Regions from separate parts of the Homo sapiens genome. Here region 2 is linked to region 1. The links are contacts of gene promoters, found by promoter capture Hi-C in human tissues and cell types (Jung and others, 2019). All regions are on one chromosome and are shown on one strand. Each heading gives the region's core, a stretch centred on a gene start or on the middle of the fragment in contact. The rest is flanking DNA. Distances are from core to core; before and after follow the strand shown. Region 1 holds the start of ARHGEF28 (Rho guanine nucleotide exchange factor 28). Region 2 overlaps ARHGEF28 (Rho guanine nucleotide exchange factor 28).

Region 1 (3,993 bases), core at 670-3,169:
ACTCACATAATTAAAAAAAAAAAGTATGAAACCCACCCAAGTGAGGCTTCTGAGACATTTCATAGAAACTTAGTTATTAACTACTATTTTTCTTCTTTACCTTTAAGTGTTTATAAACTGCTTAAAGGACAGTTGGGTACTTCAGAGGAAAGTCTAATGACACGCCTGCTATACAACCTGTTCTTAGTTGGCCAGATTGTGTGGTTTTGATAAGGAAAAAAAAAAAGTCAAAAGCAGGACAAACACTGATTCTCTGTTCTCCATTCTCCCATTACCCAAGACATTCATCTGAGTCACACACTCTATAGCTAGCTCTGAGCCTCAGTTTCCCTAACCATTAGCTATAAGATCTGATGCTAGCCAAATTCCTATTTGATCAAAGTTAATCAGCCCAATAATCACATATAGAGTCCACATCAGAACATTACATTGAAATACTATGTTGTATTAAAAATTCCAAAGGGTTTTGCCATATTCATCTCTTTTCTGCAAATACTCCAAAGGGGTTACTTTGGCTATTAATCAAGATTAGGCAAATACCCATGTGCTTTAGGAATGTGTAACTAAAAACCCAGGACAGATCTAGAGAAACCTTCCCAGGTTTCCCAGAAGTCATCACTACGCTTGGATTGTCATGTACAAAGTAGATGCCACAGAACCTAACAAGGGTAGGTCCTTGATTTGTTTTTGCAGTGAAAACAGGATTTCACTTACACCTGACAGCTTCAGGGCCTAGGAACACAAGATAACAACGCTTCAGAAAGCCAGGGGCCCCATGGAACCCCAAATGATCAGTTCTTTATAAACGAAAATTAAAGATCTTACTTTCTTTGGATTTTGCCCAATTGGTGTGGTCCGTGGTGAACCTCTATAACTCCTGGTGTGAGGAGATGTGTGGATACCCAGGCAGGGGTCAAGGCGGGAGAAGCCGCACAAACACAGATGTTGCCACTGTTCCTCGGCCCACCCAGCCAACCAATGCGGGGACGCTGTGGGCCTATAGAGATGGATTCTTTCTTAGAAATCTAACTGGTCTCTGGGAAACCAAAGCTGGGTATCCAGGGCCGCCTGAGCACCCAGTTTCCATACAGCCCTCGACCCAAATGGTGCTTTCTTGGCCAAACACCGGCCTGTCATTCGGAAAACCTAAGCACGGGAAGGCTGGGGCACCACCACATACACCCCGGGTATTTAAGGGGAAACAAATCCATAAAATAAGCGTAAGGAGTCCCACATAATTCTGACCACCTTTCCCAACCAAGGTAACCATAAATGCCTTTTGAAACACAGCAGATGCTTCCACACGAGTAAGTGGTAGTGCGTGTGTCCTGAGCTTGCGTTCCGTCTGCATTCTGCGGTCCTGGCCCTGCCAAGCACCCTCAGTCCCGGAGCTGAAGCATGGATGGGAAGGGCGGACACCAACTCTCGACGTTCTCCCTTCTCCACCGCAGGAGTGCTGTTTATTTCCCTGTCTCCCGAAGGACACTGGCGGGGCTTTCACCCGCCCAGCCCCCGGCTCTCAGTGCGCCCGAGCGACCCCGCGCTCCGCAGCTGCCGCCGCCGCACGAGGCTGCGCCGCCCTCTCCACTTGTTGCCGCTCCCGAGGGAGCGGGAGGCGGCGCCCAGCCCTCGCGCCGCAGCGCCTGCAGCGGTTCCCCGGTCACCTCTGCTGACCCTCGCATCCCTGGGGACCCTGGAGAAAGTGGCCCTGCGGATGCGAACTCAGGTGGACAAACTTTTCCGCCCAGAGCTGCAGGGAAACGCAGACGATGGAGTCCCAAAGAGCATTTACCTGGAGCGATGGCCCCGCAGCCTCCAGAACCCAGGCGAGGCTCTGCCCCCGCGCCCTGCCTGAGGGCGCCTCGGAACGCGCCCCCAGCCAGCCGCCGCCCGGAGTCCGGAAGGCTCTCCCCGGCGATGCCAACGCCTGGCGGCGGCCGGGCTGAAGCCAAGGTTTAGGGGGTGGAGCCGCGGCCGCGCGCCCGGGCCCGGCTGGCTGCGCCAGCAGCGGGTGCCGCCCCCGCTCCCCCCGCTCCCCCCGCGCCTCCCCGCTGCCACTGGATCCCCGCCTGCCCACCTCCCGGCCCGGCTCGCGGCGGCCGCATCACATGGCGAGGCCCGCCCGCCGGCCGCGCCCGACACCGGCTCCAGGAGGAAACCTGAAGCTGCCCCTACCGCGCTGTCTCCGCCAGCCCCCTCCCGCTGCGGGGCTGCGGCCGTTGGCCTCCGGAGATCGGAGGCGCGGAGGCTGGCGCGGACCTGGCGGGCCACAGGAGTGCCAGTTGCGCCCCGGGCGCCCCCACGCCTTGGCGCCTCCCGAGGGAGGCGCTGGGCTGCCCGCTCGCGAAAGGAGTTGTGCCAGGCCCGAGGGAGGCTCAGGCTGTTCCCAGCCAAAAGCCACCACACCCGTGACATAATACGGCCCGGGTCTATTACAATAGGAAATATTATTTTTAAAAACAGCATTTGCCCTCTTATTTGAAGCTCATGTTCCCTGGCCGAGAGCTTTGCAAGCTGCGATTCCCTTCACGTTTATGCACGCAAGTGGCTGCAAGTCTTAATTCAAAAACGTATGAAAACCATAACCACTTTTACAATGAACAGCAATGTGAAGGGACTTCCTTATCCTCCAAAGCAGTTTTCCTCTTAGATGTGATGACAGCCCCAAGAGCAGAAGCCAAGCCTCTTCATCAGCCAGGCTCTCATATACAGACTTAAGACCATTATTGCAGCTTTAAAGGTAAAATTGCCCATCTGAGACTGCTGTGGCAGTAAGTGTTATAGTTAAGACTATTTGTAAGGAAATTAGTATTGAAATATAAAGTTTCTAATAAAATTTATAAAATCACCTTGAGTCTCTGCTTTGTTTTTCCTTTGAAGACTGGCTACGCACAGAACCATAACAAAGGTGTGGCCCGAGGAAGCTGGCCACCAAGATCCCAAGCCAGAATGGAGCCCAGCTCCCAGGCTGCCACCACCACTTCTCCTGGGCCTGGGCCTTTTCTGTCTCCCTTCCAGCCGCCACCTTCCCCAGCCCACCTTGCTGATACGAATGCTGAGAAAGGCTGAGATTAGCAAGAGAAAGACCATCGTGTGTCTGAATGCCTTAGCCCTGTTCCAAGGCAAAGGCTGCAATTCCGCCTTGGGAAAGGGACCCCAACACTGGCATTGCACTCCTGACCTGGGCTGTCATCCCAGCTGATTCCACCCTCAGCCCCACAGAGCTGTGAACTCAAGGCCTGGCCTCAGGCGCTGCCACAAAAAAAAAAAAAGAAAAAAAAAATATATATATATATCCTGCCCAGTGTCAAGGTACACAAGATAAAAATAAAAGCAATAATATTCTTTTCAAAAATAGAAAAAATTTTGAGCAGGGCGTGGTGGCTCACACCTGTAATCCCAGCACTTTGGGAGGCTGAGGCGGGTGGATCACCTGAGGTCAGGAGCTCGAGACCAGCCTGGACAACATGGTGAAACCCCGTCTCCACAAAAACACACAATTTAGCTGGGTGTGTTGGTGCGTGCCTGTAATCCCAGCTACTCGAGAGGCTGAGGCAGGAGAATCACTTGAACTGAAGATTAACTGAATCAACATGCCAGACAAAAATGGTTTCCAAACTCTGGTGAATAAACATGGTGATGTGTTAGAAGCCTTTGTTGTTATTGTCCTTTTTCATATCACTAGTACTGAAGCCCTCTTTTTCTTTTTTTTTTTTTTTTAATTCTGGCAGGTATGTATCTTTTTTTAAAAAACAAAAAAATGTGGAAAGAGGAACAAATATTATAAGAAGTTACCCCCAAGCCCCTTCCCCACTAAAAAGAAACCAGCAAAACTAGTAATTGTGAAACTCTCACCACCCAAGGACATACAATGCTAGCTGCAGTTTTCTTGCCTGCTCTCAAGCCCTGAGCTTGATCAATATTTAAATACGTACTTGGCTTTCAACTTCTCTAGGTTCAAATATTAAGCAAAGTGTTTGCTTCAGCAACCTT
Region 2 (4,011 bases), core at 59-2,558, 180 kb before region 1:
CTGATGTCCAAATAAACTAAACGACATTGGAAACATACAATATGAGGATCCATTAAGTCTGCAGACTTAGAAGGTGACAGTATGTGTCTTAATTAACATTCATTTCTTTGCTTCAGTTATTTCCTAAATTGTCGGTACTACTGTGCCACGCTGTGTAAGAAAATAGCTGCATAGCCTGCTCCATGGAAGCTAATCCTGTCTGATTGGGTAGGGGTTGAGTGAGGCATACAGGGAGAAGAGGAGAAAGGGGAGAGACCACTTAATTTCAAATTTAAATCAAAATCAGAATTACATAAATCACTACTGTGTTTTTATATAGTTTGTCACATAAACATACAACTAAAACAAAATACAACTAGAGTATAGTTACAAACATTGCAACTAAGTGGAAAGAAATACTGATACATTTTCTATTTTGTGGCTTTTTTTTTTTTTTTTTTGAGACAGGCTCACTCTGTCGCCTAGGCTGGAGTACAGTGGCAGGATCTCGGCTCATTGCAACCTCTGCCTCCTGGGTTCAAGCAATTCTCCTGCCTCAGCCTCCTGAGTAGTTGCGTCTACAGGCATGCACCACCACACCCGGCTAATTTTTGTATTTTTAGTAGAGATGTGTTATTTCTACGTCAGCCAGGCTGGTCTCGAACTCCTGACCTCACGTGATCCACCCACCTTGGCCTCCCAAAGTGCTGATTACAGGCGTGAGCCACCATGCCAAGCCTGTGGCTTTTAATTAGGTGAATAAGTACGTATTATTCTCAACCAGCTGGGTATAATTATAAGGATATGTAACTTTCAGCCCTTATATCCAGTAAAAGAGTTTTAGTCCATATGGATCTTTAATTAGAAAATATACCAAATCTTGTGGAAGAGCATTTACATTCACTCTTGATTTTAGAGCACAGAATGGTGCCTAGGACGCTGTAGGCAATTGCTGAAAGAATGAATGATTTACAATAGTCGGTCTGCCATGTCAATGACCTTTACCCTGTGGATGAAGAACCTTTACATGACAACTGATTAAAAACACATATTTTGACAAAAACATCTACAAGAACTATTATAAAGTGTTTAAAATATATATTTGTATTTTATTTAGCACAACAGTTGTAAAAAGGACAGTACTTCTGGGTAGAGAAAACCCATTGTTCTGAGGCTGCAGACAATGATGGGAGTGTGCATAGGTCTATGGCCTTTTGGCTGCTTCTAAGTTGTCTGTAGACCAAGGAAAGGGGACCTTCACTAGTGTGGACAATCACCAAACCAAAATAGTGTTGGATCAGGAGATACTGTTATTTTTCTTCAGCTCTACTTGCTACCATTAAAGAATCCTTTGAAATGCAAAATTTCCAAGGCGGTTAGAAATACTAAAGTCCTCATCCTGAATTGGTAGGAGTGGGTTTTGTAGCTCCTTGCTACACATGCTAAACCTCTACTATACCATCCCCTTAACTAAAGGTATAGGAATACTATACTTCTTACAGTTGACTGATGCTATGGGAAAGAGAAAGACATGTTTCTTATTAAATTACAAACAGAACAAAAGTAATACAATCTATAGGGGCTCCCTAACTTGTTTTATTAAGTTGGTCAGAAATGTGACAAAGCGTTCAGAAGACTACAAATGTAGAGAAAGCAGAATCGGGGGCAGAATTTCTCAGAGGCATCAGAATGGAGGAAGGGGCCTGAGGGAAAACTGTTCATTTTAAATGCAGATTATGAGATTCCCATCCCAGATGTGTTGAATCAATCTCTCTGAGGGTGGCCCAGGAATCTGCAATAATTTACAACAAGCACCACCCCTATGCCAAGCAATTCTCATGCCTATTGAAGTTTTAGAGTCACTCAACTAGGAGGTAGATAAACCCCACATCAGCAAGTTACTGGAATAGGCTGTTCCTCCCGTGACTACCAGTGACAGGTCAGAAGAACTTCAGGGCAATATAGACAAAGAGAGAGATGAAAAAAACTGCATAAAAAGTATTTCTATTAGCTGAGATTCCAGACAGATTCATCCTAATCTTATTCTTCCAAATGCAGTCCTTGTTGACCAGTTACATATCAAGTGATTCTTGATGTCAAAATTATTCTGAAACAGTATTGAACGACCTAACCAATACATGTGAGACACCCAACTGACATATGTGAAAATAACTCAGATATCAAAAGAAGAGACTTTCCAATGTACTCATTTGCTTTACCATTTATCAGTGTTTTCTAAAGAATAAAATGATTTCTACTGACTAGCCATGAACAGTTAACATACAACTAGAAAGTGAAGTCAAAAATAGTGTTTGCACAGCCCTTTTTATTTTTAGGCCAGCTTACCTCCTTGCTCACCAACACGTTTCTTCTGAATGTGGATCATTTATCCTCCTTGTTTTCTATAGTAATTGAAGTGGGTTTTTTTTCTGTAGTTTATCAATATAATTGCATTTAAATTAATTCAAGATGCTATTTACATCTCATTCATATTCAACAGGTGACTGTTACTGGCTGATTGTAATTGCAGACAGCAGAATTCAATGATATATCCCCCAGGCCACCCTTTCACCATATATCATACAACCATTACCATGTAAGAGTATGAATGCTTTCATGGAAGATACATTCGCCTGAATGTGCCTCCTTTAATTACAAAATTCTTCACCTAGAAAAGAACTTCCATGAGGTTATAATTATTCAGAGAAGATACTGCTGCCTTGAAGTTTCAGCTTTCTAAAAGACCCACACAGAAAGGAAACTTTCCTTGATCTTCATTTAGACATTAACCTGCCTTTCAACCTTGTAAATCTCAAAGAAGTATTTACATTTTGATCTGAATTACAGTATTTGCACAGTTTTCTCATCCTCCAGGGGGACCCAAAATTTTTTGTGGGCAAGAACTGTGTCTTACATTTTTAGTGCACCACAAGCTAAAAAGAAAAATCATGGGTTTGGGAGACACAGATATCCGGGTTCAAATAATGGCTCCGTCAGTTAGTGGCCCTAACCAAGTCATTCCCATTTTCTGAGCCTTAGTTGTCTCATAGCGAATGGAATCATATCTATACTTTAAAGGGTTATTGTGAGGATCCAGTGAGATTATAACAGTGAAGAACTTAACAGAAGTAAATTTTCAACAAGCTTTAAATGTTGAATGTAAATAAAATTTCCCTTTCATATATTATTCTTCTGTTATAGACACTGAAACAGTTTTTTGTGTTTTGTTTTTTTTTTGAGACAGAGTCTTGCTCTATCACCCAGGCTGGAGTGCAGTCACATGATCTTGGCTCACTACTACTTCCGCCATCCAGGCTCCAGTGATTCTCCTGTCTCCTCAGCTTCCCAAGTAGCTGGGATTACAAAACATGCACCATGGCCAGGCTGGTCTTGAATTCATGACCTCAAGTGATCTGCCTGCCACGGCCCACCAAAGTGCTGGGATTACAGGCATAAGCCATGGTTCCCAGCCACTGAAATAGTCTCACTTTGACCCTGAGGAGTAATCATTTGATTTTTAAAACTGAGACATGGCAATGTGCAAGGAAGTTCCAAGAAAACTATACCAAGACAGAAACAGCAGGAGGAGGAGAAGAAGGAGGAAGAAGAAGGGAAGGAGCTCAAAGAGGAAGATTTGCTTTGCTTCTCTACTCCACTGTTAAGCCACCAAGACACCACAGTTTTTAATACTACTAGACATTGTTCCTGGAAAGTCATAAAATATCCAGATAAAAGGAGGCAAGGCCTCTGAGGCTAGGATAAGCCTTTCCTGGATAAGCTGAGCCAGTGCAGTGACAACTTAAATATATGCTTCATCATATGCAGCCTTAACTTCTAGCATAAGGTGAAAATCAGGGATGGATAAAGCCTTCCTCAAAATCCCTTAGAAGCCACCATGTCATTTCTCAGCAAGCTCAACACAAACAGTCCTTCTGTGGATCTAACTATGGCCAGGCACCCGGTGAAATGGGTGGCTTTCACAGGGAGGCTATGTTGTACAGAAAATGAAGATCTTTATAAGCTCTTACCCTT

Evidence for each region. The method cuts DNA at HindIII sites, captures the fragments that hold promoters and counts their contacts. A contact is called where the count stands out against the background at its distance.
Region 2: a fragment that was not itself captured here is called in contact with the fragment with the promoter of ARHGEF28 in region 1 in 1 of the 25 tissues and cell types used here (H1 embryonic stem cells).

The regions. Positions count from the first base shown.
Region 1 is chr5:73,624,122-73,628,114 of GRCh38, reverse strand. It overlaps ARHGEF28 (Rho guanine nucleotide exchange factor 28), which reads right to left and starts at 1,919. Exons shown (of 36, transcript NM_001177693.2): 1 at 1,793-1,919. RefSeq lists a silencer at 2,121-2,210. The HindIII fragment of the contact is 7,824 bases long and covers 1-3,993 here.
Region 2 is chr5:73,808,410-73,812,420 of GRCh38, reverse strand. The region is part of intron 9 of ARHGEF28 (Rho guanine nucleotide exchange factor 28); the gene reads right to left. Among named protein-coding and RNA genes, the nearest start is that of ARHGEF28, 180 kb to the right of the region's middle. The HindIII fragment of the contact is 5,459 bases long and covers 1-4,011 here.